4 separate regions of the Homo sapiens genome follow, and regions 1, 2 and 4 are each linked to region 3. The links are contacts of gene promoters, found by promoter capture Hi-C in blood cells and fetal thymus (Javierre and others, 2016). All regions are on one chromosome and are shown on one strand. Each heading gives the region's core, a stretch centred on a gene start or on the middle of the fragment in contact. The rest is flanking DNA. Distances are from core to core; before and after follow the strand shown.

Region 1 (2,700 bases), core at 58-2,557, 2.0 Mb before region 3:
TACAGAAGAGAAAACTGAGGTTCAAAGGGGTTAAGACCCTGGTTCCAAGGTCAACCACTCTCACCCCATGAGAGTCAGCAGAGCTGGGATCCTGATTCCTGCTGTGAGCCCCAGAACCCTCCCCTTCCCCACCTCTGCACTTGCCCCAGCTCCCTAGGCCAGGGATGAGAGCGTCTACAGGGGCCACTCCTGAGAGCCTGGTGACCGTCACTGCCACCAAGGGGGAACGTGGGCCCAGAGTGTTCAAGGGAAAGCTGGAGCAGCTCCGAAGGCCAACGAAGCCATCGGTACTTGGGCCATGGCTCCACCCTGTGATGATCTCACTGTCCCAAGGGGGAAACTGAGGCCCAGGCAGGGACGAAGTGCCTGTGATAAGGTCCCACCCTTGAATGGGAGCCAGAGCAGCCTGACCCATGGAGCAACATCTCCCAGAACAAGCTATTTAATCCAACTTCATACCTGCCACACTGGCTGATGGGAAGCACTCACATTAGCCAGGAAGCCCTTTCTTTCTAGAATTCTTTTAAGAGGAGGGAAATCTGCCTGGCTGGCTACAGGACTTTGCTCAGTCTTCCACTTTGATTGAAGCCCTGCACAGGCACCTGAGACCCTAAGGCTGTAGGTGAGTTTCTGGGCTCTGAAAGTCAAGTCAGATGAGCCACCCATCAATCAGTGGACACTTGAGCCGAGTGGAAGGCAGCTCGAGCCCTCGTTGGCGGGGCAGCTTGCATCACGCTACTCCCCACCACTTCCCGCTACTCCCCGCGATGAGTCCTCAGTGTCATGTCTTGGAAAATGGATAGAAACGCACAGTCTGGGGCTGGCGTGGGGTTCCAGGAGGTCAGCGGACACAGCCAGGGTCTCAGGAGGCGCGCTCTGCGCGCTGTTTCCTTTCTTCCCTGGGTGATCTCCTGCGTGGCCAAGGTTTGCCCCAGCCCCGAGAGTGCATATGAGCTAAGTGTTTGCTAGGGGCAGCTTCTGGCCCTGACTGCTTGTGGGGTCCAAGGAAAAGCACTGGCAGCTCTTCTGCTCAGTGGCTTTGTCCCCTGAAGATCCACTTCACCAATTCTTTAATGCGTGATCTCTGACTTAATGGCAAAGAAAAGTAAAAGAACACGGCTTAGTGGCAGGCTGTGATGATCCCAGAAGAGGCATTAACATTCGGCTTCAGGAATGAAGCCTCATTCCCGGCCCACCGTGCGGTCTCAGAGTCTGAGAACCACGAGATCAACAGCGGCGCCCCCTCCCGGCGCACAGTCCCGCGGACGGCCGCGCGGGGGCAGCACGCGGCCCGGCCCCCGAGCGCCCGCGGTTGACTTTGCAAAAAATTGGGGGATTTTCCACACTCGCTTCCCTCGTCGTTCGTCCGGCGGCCGCCCATTGTTGTTTGCCAAGGGGTGGAGGAGGGCAGTCGTGTCTGTCCTCAGAGCCTCCCGTGGGGCTGGCCCCGCTGCCCACGCGGGGCAGAGAGAGGGGTTTCGTTTGGGGACAAACTTTTAGAGGGGACTCCGGCTCGCGCGGACCCGCGGGGCCCGGCCCCGGCCCCGACCCCGACCCGGCGGCAGGCTTGGGGCGCCGGGCTGCGCGCCGTGGACGCCACCTTCTCCGAGGTCGCCAGGCCCCGTCCGCAGCCGCCTCCTCCAGGGAGCCCGCGGCCCCTTTGCCGCCCAGCGGCCCCGTGCCGGGCTCCTCCCCCAGCACCGCGGGGCGCCTGGGCTCCCAGGCAGCCCGCAGACGCGGCAGGTCTTCCCAGGACCCGAGGGACGCGCTCCGGCCGCTGCCCGGGGACAGCAGGGGTCCTGCGGTTCGGTTCGAGGACCGCGCTGGAAGAGGCCCGGGGCTTCGGAAGGGCCATTCCCCTCCCTCCACGCCCGCCCAGGGCCTCGCTGTTCTTTGTGCCCTTTCTCTAGGCCCTCCAGGCCCGCTTCAGTCCTTAGGGGAAGAGGGTAGGATAAACAGAAGAGGAGAACCTGAGCAATTCGTAGGGGCAGCGTGGTCCTGGGCTTCCCCGGCCCTTGCCCGCCCCCCCCGCCCTGCTGGCTCGGTGACCTCCCCCTGGCTGGCCCCCTGCCCTCGCGTGTGACGTGGGGTTGTTGGCAAGTGGGGGGCTTGGACTGCTGCCTGGCCGGGATTCGGAGTCTGTCCAGTGGAGCCCACCCTCCTCCCCGGGCAGCGGGACTGTGGGCAGGCCTGGCGGGTTCTGCCAGCTTGGGAGGCAGGACAGGGACCTGGTAACGTTGCCCCAAGGGCATCGTCCTGGTTCTTCTGCTTGAAACTTCCCAAGGGACATGTCTTTAGACGACTAGGGTGGAGGCGGGATCACAGCCTGGATGGGGTGGGGGGTGACTGCTCGCAGCTTCCGGTGGCCAGTGGGTCTCCTCCCAGATGGCTGTCATTCACTGCCCAGAGGGGTTCCGACTCGGCCGGGTCGGGGGAGCCACCAGAGAGGGCACTGAGCAGCTTGACAAGCTCCACTGTTGGGGATGTTCCCTGGGGGTGGGGTGGGGTGGATGGCGGCTCTTTTGAGGGTGAAATGTTCTAGTCCGAGAAAAGTCACTCAACCATGGGGTGCTTGCTGCTCCCACCCCAGCTGCCTAAGCCACCAGGGGCCGGGGCACAGGTGGAAGAAGGTGGCCTCAGTCCTGGGCCCTGATGCCTAGAAGGGCATGGTCAGTGCCCTCCAGGCAGCCTTGCCTGATC
Region 2 (2,700 bases), core at 151-2,650, 2.1 Mb before region 3:
CGTGAGCAGAGATCTTCCAATCTACCGCACGCCTCAACAGAACAGGAAGGTGGAGGAAGGGTGAATCTCCTCTCTCTTCTGGAGCTGGGACACTCATCTTCTTGCCCTTGGACATCAGAACTCCAGGTTCTCGGGCCTTTGGGCTCTGGGACCTAACACCACAGCCCCCAGGTTCTCAGGCCTTTGGCCTTGGACTAAGCCTGCTCGCTGGCTTCCCTGGTTCTCCAGCTTGCAGATGGCAGATCTCGGGTCATCTTAGTCTCCCTAATTGCATAAGCCTATTCCCCCAATAAATCCTCTTTCACCTGTCTCTATATATCCTATAAGTTCTGTCCCTCTGGAGAACCCTAATATAGCTCCCCCTCCCCGACCCCTACGCTGGGGGATGCTGCCAGCCATGCTCGTCCTCTTGAAGTGTGTCCGAGCCTTTAGAAACTGGGTCTCCCTGTGTGGGTGCTCCCCAGGGACAGAGATGGTGCATGGTACAGGCCTGGTGAGAGGAGGGCCTCTAGCCCCTCAGGACCAGGACCACTGCCTGGGCACTAAGCTGTCTTTGGCTAAGGGGCAGGAGGACGAAACAAGTACCTGTCACAGACTGTAAGGCCCTGGCATCCCTCGGAGGCTGCCTTGCTAATGGACAGCTGCACAGGACTCCAGAAAGGTCCCTGGGTTGGCTGGTGACCTCTGCCCGTGGGTCCCCTCTCGGGAGAGCCCAGCACTGCAGCAATGCACACAGCCGCTGTAGTCAGATGCTGGCCAAAAACCCTCTGCCACTGGGAAGATATGGAGGCACCCATGTACCAGAGAACAGGGACAGTGACACTGTGTCCCATCAGAGTGCTCACAGCAGTGTCGCACAGCAGTGGCAGCCCTCACTGGGTCAGTGAGAGGACCCACCCTGGAGCACTCAGCATCTCATGACACTCAGGAATGGCTACCTTCCTCTCCTGCAGCTGGGCTGGGCTGCACTGGGGAGGGCGGGTGACTGAGCACCCACACACACTTGCAGGCCATCATCCCCTGGCTCTGTGGCAACCCATGGAACATGGTCCCCAGGGCCTTCCTGGTGGCCCAGGGCAGTGCCTGTGATCTGTGTGGAATGCACAGGGTCAGTGTCATGCAGGAGGCAGCTCCCTGCTATGAGGGCCTCCTAAGCTCTCCATTCTGGATTCTCCAGCCTTTGCTGGCCTGACCCATTGCCTGCCTGGGTCCCCATTTGACCCACTTGCTGAAGGATGGGGGTTTGCTCCTGTCCTGGAACAGCCACACCAATCCCAATACCTGCCTTTTACCCACTTGGCTGAAACCTGACACCCCTCTACTTTGTAAGAATGATGTTCTCTGCTGGGAACGTTGCCAGCCCAGCTTCCAGGAAAGCAGAGTAACAAACCCCTCCTTGCTGGGCCTGGCTTCCCGATGGGCCTGCTTGGACAGTTTTAAAGCATGACTTGGGAGGCCTGAACTTTTGCAGGGTTCAGGACGTGTGCCGACAAGCGGCCCTGCCTGGACTTGCGTGAGCTAAACCAACTGCTCAGACCTGCTCACCTTCCTGCCTGCCAGGAGGGAACAGAGGCAGAAGAGGAGGGGCCGAGCCCCTCCAACCGGGAGCCCTGGGGTCTGCAGTGGGCGGGAAGGAAGGAGGCTGTGGCAAGGGTTGGAGCCCGGCTGGCTGAGGCCCTTGTTCTCCAGGCAGAGCTGGAACCCACTCTCACTCTGGGGCCTACCTTCTCCCCGGCTTAGTGCCTGGGCAGAGCCTCTCCTTACGGGTGACATCACAACCCTCTCAACTCCCCCGGGAGACCATCTGCTCTGCCTGCCCTTGATCCTCTCAGGGGAGCTGAAGCATCACACCTGGTGACAGCTGCTTCCAGCAGGCCACTCATTCAGCTGGACCTTGAGGAGGGTGGGCCAGCAGTCCCTCAGGACCTGCCCAGGTTCCCTGCACCATCCTGGACTCCCTGGCGAGCCCACCTGCTCGCAGAGCAGCTGCGTTACCCTCCCAGAGGCAGGCACTGTGGCGGACATGAGCCACACGCCTGGCTCCCCCACTCTGGGGAGTGACCTGCCTGCGACTTGTCACTGGGAGGAGTTTGGGGGAAATCCTGCAGGCACAGGCCTGTGTGTGAATCCCAGCTCTGCCACCGGTGACCTTAGGTGATGAGTTATTTAGGCTCTTTGAGTCTCAGTTTACTCATCTGCAAAACAGCGCCCCTGACAGTGAGGCCTGAATGAGACTGTCACAGCCCCTCCCTGCTCCCAGACTGCACCCTCGGGACAGGAATGCCCTCCTTTGTGCCTCCGCTCCTCAGCAGGGCTAGCACGCTGGTGTCACTCCACAGGACAGTGCCTTCCCTGGCTTTCCCTCCATCAACTGTGGTCGGGCTGGAGGACGTGGCCGCGCCGCTGCGAAGATTTCTCTGCCAGGGAATGTGGACCAGGATTCCAGGGAGAACGCAGCTGCACGCTCCACAGCCTGGCTCCCTGCTCCAGGACGACACCCCCACCCCACCCTGGCCACGATGACGCAAACAGAAAACCTCAGTGCTTACAGATCCCGATCTCCCACGGTCACCAATGCTCTAGAGAGGTAAATATTTACACAGGAGCCTCTAAAGCTCATAACTCAGAGGGGAGATGCTCCCCCTGCCGCCTAGGGGCTGTAAACATTTGTTCCTGCAAGCCCTGCAGCAGAAGGCGCTT
Region 3 (2,700 bases), core at 5-2,504:
ACACACACACACTAGAATAATTCATGACACATGAACATTACATGAAATTCTGATTTCTTTGTCCATAAATGGTTTCTTTGGGACACAGCCACACTATATTGTCTGCTTTCATGCTGCCACAGCTGAGTTAAGCAGCTGGGGCAGCGATAGCAAAGCCAAAACCACTTCCTACCGGGACCTTTAAGAAAGTGTGCCCTTAAATACTCTGATAGCCCCTAGTGAATTAAATTGACCACCTGACATCATGCCCCTGTTGACCCTTCAGAGACTCAGGCACACATCCAGGCCCCAATGCTACCTTTCAACCCCTCAACGACCTCAAACTGGTGTCCACTGACGCCCCTTCCAGTGACACCCCTCTTAATTCTTCCGACCTCGGCGAGAAGGGGGCTAACCTAGGCCTGTCCTTGAAGAGACCCAGGTGCCAGTCCATTCTCTCCAGCCTCCCCTCGGTGATCCCGGAAGCTGGAACGGCGGCTCTCCTCTGACCTCTGCACACTTTCTGAAGATGGGAGTGTCAGGGCAGGCAAAAAAGAGAAGCTCTTCGTTCCCCAGAACCCACTTCCAGTGCCTCAGTTCTGTTTCCCAGCAGGCTTGTGCAGGTCGAGATGCTCACACAGGACTGACCCTGGTGCCCCAGCGCATCCGGGAAAAAGGAACCACAAATTCCTCGGGAAATACACAGAGAAGATCCCGCTGCCACTTGGCCTTTCCCACGGCGTGGCTGCCCCTCCCCGGCCTCCCTTGGGCCCGGCTGGAGCGCACAGCGCGGGACGCCCCCGACCCGGGGTCCTCTGGCACGAGGGGCAGCCTGATCTCGGCGACCGTCTCCACCCAAGGCTGCTGCCCGCCCCAGCTCGGACTCCGCGCGGCCTGGCTCCCAGGGGACGGGCGGGAGGGCCCGGCGAGACCGCTCGGCCGTCCACCCAGAGCCGGCACCCGGAGGTCGGCCCCTGGGCGCGGATCCCGATCTGAGGGCGGGTCCCAAGCGGCAGGGAGCGAACCTGGGACCGTGCCACCCCCCCACCAGTGGGCGCGGCAGCCGAAAAAAAGGGGAAGCGCCGGCGCTGGACTCTGCTCAGGGCAGCCCGCGAGGACCTAGGGCTCCGGCCACAGCGGCCCGAGCGCCCGGGGTGGGGCTACGCGGGCTCAGAACACGGTGGCTGGGGCGCCCTGCCCGCCGCTGCGCGCTTCCATTGGCTGCCGAGGCAAGGGCGGGGACTCAGTCACCGGCCTCCGCCTCCCGCGGCGTCCACACTCGCCGCGCGCGCGGCGGCCGGGCTGGACCTTGCTGGCCCGCGGCGCCATGAGCCGCAGCCTGGACTCGGCGCGGAGCTTCCTGGAGCGGCTGGAAGCGCGGGGCGGCCGGGAGGGGGCAGTCCTCGCCGGCGAGTTCAGCGTGAGTGGCACACGGGGTCCGCGAGCGGCGCGCCCCGGCCCTGGCCCTGCGTACGCCTGTCCTCCGCGCACGGCGGGCTCTGCCTTTCTGTCTCGGTGTCCCCGGTGTCTCCCCGCCTCGGGGGGTCTCTCCGTGTTTCTCTCCCCAGCACTTCTCTGTCGCTCTTGCTGTCTCCGTCTTCACTCTCTGCCCCCCGGCCCCGGAGCGCGACGTCCACGGCCAGGCCGGGACGGACCGTGCACACCCTCGTTCCCGGTGTCCTCGTCGCGCTCCCGGAACAACCTGGCTGCGGGCGGGACAGGTGGGGCGGGCGCCGCAGGGGAGGGCGGGCGGCCCTGCTGCGCTGGACAGCCCCGGCCCCGCCGCTTCTGGCGACCTGACTGTCCCCTGTGACCACAGGAAGGAAGGGGCTGCAGCAGGGCGAAGAGGAACACGGAGGCTGTGGCGTGGTGAGGGTGTGAACGCCGGGCTCGAATCCGCGTCCGGGCCCGAATCCGCTTCCCGTCCCGAATCCGCGTCCCGGCCATCCGCGTGTGGTCCAGGCGGTCTACCTGGCCCCTCTGACCTCGGCTTCTCCCTTGGTGAAATGGGGACATGAATGACCAAACTGGTCTAAGGATTAAATGATGTGGGTGAAAAGCACTTAGTACATATTGGGCGCACACTTCGTAGGGGCGTTCGTCACTGCCTATAAAGATTCTAAACGTGGGCCAGGTGCGGTGGCTCACACCTGTAATCCCAGCACTTTGGGAGGCCGAGGTGGGAGGATCGCTTGAGCTCAGGAGTTCGAGACCAGCCTGGGCAACACAGCGAAACCCCGTCTCTACTAAAAATACAAAAATCAACTGGGCATGGGCGCATGCCTGTAATCCCAGCTACTAGGGAGCAGAGACAGGGGACTCGCTTGAACCTGGGAGGCAGAGGTTGCAGTGAGCTGAGATGGTTCCACTGCACAGCTGAGATGGTGCCACTGCACTCCAGCCTGGGCCACAGAGTGAGATCCCATCTCAAACAAAACAAAACCAAACAAAAAATCTAAACGTTACAATACAGGTAGTGCAAGCCCAGCATTAGGAAGGCTCACGCAGAATGCTAGGCACTGTACATTACAGTTGATGACGTGTTTAAAGTGTAATCGCTTATGTACCAGACATAGAAACATACCATACAAACGCATAAACTGATATATGGTGACATGTATCAAGTTTAGAAATATGACAAATATATAAAAGTATTATAAATGACCGTTTATACAATAAACATTGCATAACTGCATAAAACAATACAACAAATGAATATAA
Region 4 (2,700 bases), core at 1-2,500, 2.1 Mb before region 3:
AGCTTGCACTGCACGCCCAGGCTTTGCAGGCCATCCAAATGCACGGGTTGGTCAGAAGAGGAAATGAGTTCATGGTTTCAAGGACAGGACACTGCTATTAAATGGTGGGAAAAAGGAAAACTTCTGACCTTGTGTCAAAATACTGACTTGTTAAAAAATAAAAAACAAGAGGCTTTATTAGCGTAGGTTTAGGAAATACCTCCTCAGCCCCTTCCCTAACAACGTCTGCAAGCGGGTGAAAATCTTTGCTGGCTTTACAAACAAGGTCAGCAAAGGTTTCAGAAAACAGAGCAGGCTGCTGGCCACGATACGCCTTGCCTCCTGCAAAGCTGTGCCCACCCAGATAGAGAAACCAAGGCCCCACCTGGTTGCCTGGGGAACAGCATCCCCCAAAGCAGGAGGCCCCTCTGAATGCCTCCTAGGAGCCTGAGACTCCCACCTTCCCCTTGGGGTGGTCGGGGAGCAAGTGACCAGGAAGCAGAGGCCCCACACTGGGGGAAGCCCAAAGCTTTTCCTTCAAAGCCCCCTGACCTGCATGATCTCATTGCGCCCTGACAAGGAACCCTCTGGGGCAGGGGGTGGCTTAGCCATCAGGTGGACACACACTGTGGGGTGCCATGCAGGCCACACCCGCCACACCTCCACAAAGGCACTGATGGGAAGGAAGCGCCCAACCCCTCCTGGTCCCAGGAATGGTCACTCCCATTCCTGACCAGGGCAGTCCCCCTGCAAGAGCACCTCAGTGGATATATCCAGGGCCCAGGGCACTCCCCCAGAGAAGGTGCAGGTGAGGCCCCTTCCCCTGAGATGCACTGCCCAGCTGTGGGCAGGGACAGCTGCCCCCCCTACTCAGTGAGGGTGAACGAGACCCCCAGCAGGTCCCCTGACGGGCTGCTTCTCCAACAGCACTGAAGTGGGGGTGCACAGAGAACTGGGCAGAGAGCCGGGATGTGAGGCTTAGGACTGCCTCCACCTAGCAGGTGTCAGGTAAGGCTGTGACTTCTGGAGGTCCTAGAAGTCACCCCCAGGGTAGGGGCCACAAGAGGAGGTGCTGACAATGTCCTCCCAGCAGGGCCAGCTAGAGACGCCGGGTCCAGGGGTGCTCTGCACCAGCCCTCTTCAATGAGGGGAGAACAGGCGGATGGCTTTCTGGGAGCTTGACCCTGTCCAAAAGCCCAGCATGGCTGTGAGCAGCCCGGGCCCAGATGCTGCTGACTGGACACCTGGAATGGGGCTCTGCCGAGGTCTTCCATGAGCAGAAGGGGTGAGGACCACCTCCTCACCTGTGTCCCACTGCCCTTCAGACTCTCCTGCCTGCTGCTCCAAGGCAGGGCTCCAGCAAGGCCATGAGGGCCCTGCGGGGCTGCTCGCCGGTCATGAAGGCTGCCCATTCATATTTCACACCTGCCTGCCTGGCACTTTCTGGCTTCTGACACCGGCAGGCGAGATGTCACTTATGCCTGAACGCACACACTCATACCTTGGGGTCAGGAGAAGGTGACAGTGCCCTGCTTCTTCACAGGGCACGCAGTCGAGCAGCAGGGCAGCTGACTAGGGGCGGGCTGGCTCGGCCTGAGACCTGTCTCCAGAGCCATGGCCTCCTCTTGTCCTGGCCAAGAGCTCTGGGGCTCACTCCTTCTGCTTCTAGGCCTTTTGCTGAGGCTATTGCGAGGACTCACGTGGCCCTTCCTCTTCCTTACAGCCTGTAACTACACATCCACCATGGCTGCTTGGGCCCACCAAGAGAGACGTGGAGGCCCGAGAGGGAGGCTGGCGGCAGCGTCAGGTCCTGCCGGGGTGTGCAGTATTTGTACCCTGCTATGAAACTGTCCCTGCCAGGTGAGAAAGTGCTCAGGGCCCTGAGGCCAGCCAGCACGACTTGATACCTACGCCCGGTGACTCCATGGCAGTAGAAAAGCACAGCCCTTCTGGGGACTCTGCATTAACACAGAAGCTCATATCTGTGTGCACAATGGGCAAAAGAGCCACATCAAAGCTTGTGGGTACAGCCTGATGCCAACTCTGGAAAACACATCAACTGGAGAGATGGAGCAGAAATGCAACCCGCGCCAGGTGCCCTGGGCCTAGTGCCCTGGGCCATTTTTTCTTTTACTTTTTCTGTATTTTTCCGATTTTATATAACCATGCATGTATTAGAAAACAAACAAACAAACAAAACAATCTAATCTGACTTTCTCACAGGAGGTAGGAGAGTCAGGGAGGCCTGGGAGGCTCAGGGCCTCCCCAGCAGCCTCTCAGGACATCTCCAAAGCCACAGGATCATCACCAGTAATCAGCCTTTCTCGGGGTCAGGAGGGCGAGAGCTCATCTGAGGATCACTGGGGGTGTCCCTGGGACCCCTCCAGGCTCCACCTCCTGCTGACCCCACAGCAACTCATGTCAGGGTCCGAGGCAAAGTCCTGGTTCTCACCCACGACCCCACAGAGCCTCTCTGCAGCGAAGAGGGGCTGACACCTGCTCCCTCAACCCCCGAGTCCATATAAACACAGAGGCGGCCGCGGAGAGATGGCCTTGCATGCTCTTGAATGTAGACTATTCTTCCCCAGACAGGGAAATTCAGAGCCTAAACAGCCCACCCCAGAGATAAGCCATTCTGTGCCCAAGCTAACTGCAGTATCCAACTCTATACTCCCATGGCCCTGGCTCTACTTACAAGGAGGGCGACAGCTCCGGGTGATG

The links. The method cuts DNA at HindIII sites, captures the fragments that hold promoters and counts their contacts. A CHiCAGO score of 5 or more calls a contact.
Region 1: a contact is called between a fragment that was not itself captured here and the fragment with the promoter of PTPN18 in region 3, in 8 of 17 cell types (total B cells, non-activated CD4 T cells, naive CD4 T cells and 5 more). The highest score is 13.4, in total B cells.
Region 2: a fragment that was not itself captured here is called in contact with the fragment with the promoter of PTPN18 in region 3 in 2 of 17 cell types (M0 macrophages and total B cells); the score reaches 10.1 in M0 macrophages.
Region 4: a fragment that was not itself captured here is called in contact with the fragment with the promoter of PTPN18 in region 3 in 2 of 17 cell types (M0 macrophages and total CD4 T cells); the score reaches 8.4 in M0 macrophages.

What each region holds. Positions count from the first base shown.
Region 1 is chr2:128,320,711-128,323,410 of GRCh38, forward strand. No RefSeq gene overlaps it. Among named protein-coding and RNA genes, the nearest start is that of HS6ST1, 3.2 kb to the left of the region's middle. RefSeq lists silencers at 1,157-1,476, 1,517-1,726 and an enhancer at 2,193-2,700. The HindIII fragment of the contact is 3,262 bases long and covers 1-2,700 here.
Region 2 is chr2:128,303,905-128,306,604 of GRCh38, forward strand. The region is part of intron 1 of HS6ST1 (heparan sulfate 6-O-sulfotransferase 1); the gene reads right to left. Among named protein-coding and RNA genes, the nearest start is that of HS6ST1, 14 kb to the right of the region's middle. The HindIII fragment of the contact is 2,947 bases long and covers 1-2,700 here.
Region 3 is chr2:130,354,802-130,357,501 of GRCh38, forward strand. PTPN18 (protein tyrosine phosphatase non-receptor type 18) reads left to right here and starts at 1,255. Exons shown (of 15, transcript NM_014369.4): 1 at 1,255-1,399. The coding sequence starts at 1,307. RefSeq lists silencers at 835-1,504, 1,645-1,694. The HindIII fragment of the contact is 15,291 bases long and covers 1-2,700 here.
Region 4 is chr2:128,286,523-128,289,222 of GRCh38, forward strand. The region is part of intron 1 of HS6ST1 (heparan sulfate 6-O-sulfotransferase 1); the gene reads right to left. Among named protein-coding and RNA genes, the nearest start is that of HS6ST1, 31 kb to the right of the region's middle. RefSeq lists an enhancer at 1,311-2,140. The HindIII fragment of the contact is 1,488 bases long and covers 507-1,994 here.